Linked DNA regions of Homo sapiens: region 2 is linked to region 1. The links are contacts of gene promoters, found by promoter capture Hi-C in human tissues and cell types (Jung and others, 2019). All regions are on one chromosome and are shown on one strand. Each heading gives the region's core, a stretch centred on a gene start or on the middle of the fragment in contact. The rest is flanking DNA. Distances are from core to core; before and after follow the strand shown.

Region 1 (2,514 bases), core at 11-2,510:
CCGGGCCCCCGCCGGCCCCGCCGCCTTCGCCGCCTCCTCCTCCGCCGCCGCCTCCGCCCCCGCCGCCGCCGCCGCCGCCGCGGCCCCCGGCTGCAGCTGCAAGGCCGCTCGGCAGGGCGCGGGGGTCGCCGGCCGGCCTTGGTCACCAGCAGCAGCAGCAGCCGCAGGAGCAGCGCTCTGGGGAGGGGGGCTCGCTTCTCGGGGTGCGCTCCGTGGCCACCCCCTTCAGGGGGGGTCGTGGCCGCCCCCCAGCCCCGGCGCGCTGGGCTCGCTCCAGCGGGGCTCGCCGGGCGGGGCGGGGACCTGCACTCGGGGCGCTCTCCCGGGACGCGCGGGCTCCCGCTCCTCCTCCTGTCCTCGGGCGAGCCCGGACTCTGCCCGGTCGCGGGGCTCCGTCCACCTGCTAAGTGAAGGTTTCACGGGAGATAACAAAGAAAGAAGCTGCTCCTTTCTTCCTTAGCCAAATTACGGATGACCAGCAACCGGCCCGCTCCTTCTCTTGTCCGCTCTCTCCTCTCCTCTCCTCTCCTCCTCAGGAACACATTTCACTCGTTTTCCCTTAGAGTAGTAAAACTTTTTCGTCCTTGAAGGCGTGGTGCTGCTGGCTGCTCGCGAGTGCGGAGAGGGGAGGCTGGCTCCTGCTCTCCCCCTCTGGTCCTCTCGTTTCAAGTTTTGTTCTGTCCTAGGAAAACTTCTTGCGATGGTGCATTTCTCTGAAGTTGCTATTGCCGGAGCTCTTGGTTGCCTCTGAAACAAGAGTCCTTTTTCATTCTCCTCGCAACAGTCACAGTCTGATGCGACATCTTTCCTTTTGGGCAGAAATTAGGAAACAAATATAACAAGGAAAAAATTGAACAGGAAAAAAAATGATGTCGAATCGCTCTGTTACCTTGTTGCTGACGGTTGGGGTTGGTGTTTTATTTTTTTCCCAGCAGTTGTCTGGAGAAGGAGGAGGAAGAAGAGTGCATTGGTGGAGGTGGAGGTGTGTGTGTGCATATAGGGGATCGATCCTTGATACACAACAACTCCAGTGGGCACGCTGCACGGCTCGTAGAGTGCACCGACGGCGGGCGCTGGCGCTGGCCGTGCTGGAGCAGAGTTGCAGCAGGAGCTCGCTCTGCGCCCTCGTTCGCGCTCTCTTTCCCTCTCTCACTTTTCCTCTCCCTCCCTCTCTCTCTCTCCCTCTCTCGGGCGCCCGCTCTCGCTCCGATCTGACAGTTCGCTCTCTGTCCCTCCCTCTCAGAGCGGGGACTGTCGAATGTTTACCCTCCGCCGCGAGCGCGCACCCACCACCACACTTTCCCAAATACAAGGAAGTCGAGCACCAGGGCCCCCGCTGATTGGCTACCCGCTGGGTGATTGGCAGGCTCGGAATGACTGGCTCAGGACGCGAGGCCCCCCTTCCGGCCGTTCCGATTGGTTGCTTTTTAATTTAGGCAGAGCGTCGTAGAAGCTGGAAATCTGTCGTCCTCCAGCCTCCCTCCCCCTCACCACTTTCCCCTCCCCGCCCCTCCCCCGCCGCCCCCTCCGCCACATCTTAACTCTTAGTGTCCGGCCCAGACGTTGGCGTTCCCTCGGCGGCTCTGGGCGTTCGCAATAGGTCTGGGCGGGGGGAAGAAAGGGGAGATAAAAGGGAGGGAGGGACGAGAGGGGGGAAGAGAATCAGAAGGAAAACGAAGGGGGAAACATGAAAAATAGCAACCTGCCCACCCCACCTAGTACGCGTCGGGTTGCTCACCCCCTTACCCCCGCCCCGCCAGAGATTTGTAAAGCGCGCGGCACGGATGTACCATTCAAGCTAATACCTATAGACAGATGTGTCCCCAGTGGTTTCAAAGTTTCCTCTTCCCTTCACCAGCCGGCCCCCTTCTCTGATCGGCGGGGGTGGGAAGCGGGGGCTCGCATCGCCAAGAGCTCTGGTCGTGGCCACGCTCCTTGGAAATCCGCCACCGCAACTTTCCGCAGCCGTTGCGCGCCGGCGGCAGCCCCCTTTGTTTAAGTTCTCGGATGCCATCATCTGGGAAACCTGCAGCCCAGGACCAGCGCGGTGCCCGCGCGTGCGAGACGGACCGCTCGCTGCCGCCGCTCCCTGGCTCCTCCACCCCCTCTCTCCCTCCTTCGCTCTCCCTCCCTTCCTCCCTCCTCCCTCCTCTGGGATTCGTGCAAGTAGCGTGCGTGCCCTTGTGAGTTTGGAGGGTGCCGGTCAGCGGAGCCGTGCGATGTATTTGAAAAGCAATCAGTCCGACCTTCCCCCATAGATTCATCGTAAGTGTATTCGACCCCAATGGCTTTAGGAATTCCCTGTGGCAGCAGGAGCCGGGCGAAAGAACCGGGATCGGCTAGCCGCGCCCTTCTCTGCTCCACCGCTTCCTCGTGTGTGTGTGTGTGTGTGTGTGTGTGTGTGTGTGTGATTAGCGGTGGGGGGGTTTGCTCGCTCTCTATTCTTAGGCATGGTGGTGCTTTTTTTTCTTTCCTTTCTGTCTCAGATGGATTTGCGTGGTGGATGGGGCTGGC
Region 2 (2,514 bases), core at 8-2,507, 240 kb after region 1:
TGATGAAATCCAATTTTTCCAATTTTTCTTTCTTAGCTTGTGCTTTTGGTGTCAAGTCCAAGAACATTTTGCCTAGTCCTGGATCCTAAAGATTTCCTCTTATCTTTTTTCTAAAAGTTTTATATTTTTACATGTGACATTTAAGTCTATGATCCCCTAGTACCTCAGAATGTAATCATACTTTAAGATAATGTAATCATACTTTGAGATAAGATCTTTAAAGGGGCAATTAAGTTAAAATGATGCTGTTAGGGTGGGACCCTAATCGGACTGATCCATTCATAAGAGGAAGAGACGTCAAGGATGAACACAAATAAATGAATGACCACGGGAAAAGGCAGGAAGAGGGTGGCCATCTGCAAACCAAGGTGAGAGGTGTCAGAGGAATTCAATCCTGCTGGCTCCTTGATCTTGAATTTTTAGCCTTCAAAACTCTGAGAAATTAAATTTCTATGGTTTAAGCTATCCAGCCTGTGGTGTTTTGTTTTGGCAGCCCTATCCAACTATTATGGCTGTGTATCAATTTGGAAAGAATTGATACCTTCACCTGGTTCAGTCTTCCAATCCGTGAACTAAGTATATCTCTCCATTTTATGCAGATCTTTGTTTTCCATCATCAGCATTTGCAGTTTTCAGCATGCAAGATCTATACATGTTTCGTTAGGTTTATACCTAAGTACTTCATTTTAAGTAATCACTAATGGTCTTACATTTTTAACTTCTATTTTTAGTATTTATTACTAGTGGATTAAAATATAATTGATTTTTGTGTATTTATCTTGTATTCTGTGACCAAGCTTAGTTCACTTATTAGTTCTAGAAGTTTTCTGAGGGTGGATTCCTTGGGGTAGTCTACATAGGCAACCATGTTTCTACATATAGAGACAGTTTTATTTCTTCTTTTCTGATCAATATGCCTATTATTTCCTTTTCATGCCATACTGTACTGTTGAGATCTTTCAACATTATGTTCAATAGCAATGGTTAGACACATCCTTGCTGTGTTTCCAGTCTTTGCCAAAATAATTCAGTCTTTCACCTTTACGTATAATGTTAACCATATATATTTTGTAGATGCTTTTTACTTGGCTTAGGAAATCCTCATCTATTTCTATTTTTTTCTGAGAGATTTTATCACAGGTGGATATTCAATTTTGTTGAATATTTTTTTCTACATTAATTGGTGTGATCATGTGTTTTTTCTTCTTTACCCTGTTAATATATGGTAGACTACACTGATTAATATTCAAATACTAAACCAGTCTTGCATCCCTGGAATAAACCCACTTAATTGCCTTTTACAATATTAACAAATATTGTTTTGTTAATATTTGTTAAGATTAGTTAATATTTTGTTTGTTAATTATTTGTTAATATTTTATTAAGAACTTCTGCATCTACATTCATAAGGAATAGTGGTCTATAATTTTTTGTTTTGTCTTTTTTTGGTACTGTCTTTATCTGGATTTGTTATCAGAGTAATATTAGTTTCATAAAGTGAATTAGGAAGCATTTTCTCAAATTCTATTTTCTGGAAGAAATTGTGCAAAATCAATAGTCATCTTTTTTTTTTTTTTTTTTTTTTGAGATAGGGCCTTACTTTATTGCCCAGGCTGGAATGCAATGTCTCCCTGCAGCCTCAATCTCCCGGGCTCAAGTGATCCTCCCATCTCAACCTCCCAGGTGGGCACCACCATGCCTGGCATTTTAAAAACTTTTTTTTTTTTTTTTATAGAGATGGGAGTCTCACTATGTTGCCCAGGCTGGTCTCGAACTCCTGGGTTCAAGTGATCCTCCTATCTTGGCCACCCAAATTGTCGGGATTATAGGCGTGAGCCACTGTGCCCAGTGTTAATTCCTTAAATATTTGAAACAAAATCCCCAGTGAAACCATCTGGGCCTAGAGATTACTTTTTACAGAATTTAACATACAAATTTAATTTTCTTGAAAATTGTAAAGTTTTTAAAATTATGTATTTTATATAGGCAAGTTGTGATAATATGTAATTTTTGAAGAACTGTTCTATTTCATCTAAGTTGTCAAATTTACGTATGTACAGTTTTTCTTACTGTTCCCACATTATCCTTTTTACATGGCAGTCTCTGTAGTGATATCACATTTTATTCTTAATGCTAGTAATTTGTACCTTCTCTCTTTGTTTTTGTCAGTCTTGTTAGAAGATTGATTGTATTGATCTTTTCAATTAACCAGCTCTTTGTTTCATTGATTCATTTTATTGTTTTTCTGTTTTCAGTCTCATTGATTTCTGCTTTAATCTTTATTTTTTCTTCCTACTGCTTGCTTTGGATTTATTTTGCTCTCTTTTTCCAAGGTTCTTGAAGTGAGGAGTTGAATTGTTGATTTGAGACACTATATCTTTCCTAGTGGATGAAAATACAATTGATTTTTGTGTATTTATCTTGTATTCTGTGACCAAGCTTAGTTCACTTATTAGTTCTAGAAGTTTTTTGAGGGTGGATTCCTTGGGGTAGTCTACATAGGCAACCATGTTT

Evidence for each region. The method cuts DNA at HindIII sites, captures the fragments that hold promoters and counts their contacts. A contact is called where the count stands out against the background at its distance.
Region 2: a fragment that was not itself captured here is called in contact with the fragment with the promoter of POU3F3 in region 1 in 2 of the 25 tissues and cell types used here (adrenal gland and dorsolateral prefrontal cortex).

What each region holds. Positions count from the first base shown.
Region 1 is chr2:104,852,861-104,855,374 of GRCh38, reverse strand. It overlaps POU3F3 (POU class 3 homeobox 3), which reads right to left and starts at 1,260. Exons shown (of 1, transcript NM_006236.3): 1 at 1-1,260. It also overlaps a transcript of PANTR1 not described here. RefSeq lists an enhancer at 1,067-1,656. The HindIII fragment of the contact is 12,067 bases long and covers 1-2,514 here.
Region 2 is chr2:104,610,040-104,612,553 of GRCh38, reverse strand. All of the region lies in intron 2 of LOC105373525 (a long non-coding RNA gene), which reads right to left. Among named protein-coding and RNA genes, the nearest start is that of LINC01103, 100 kb to the right of the region's middle. The HindIII fragment of the contact is 3,262 bases long and covers 1-2,514 here.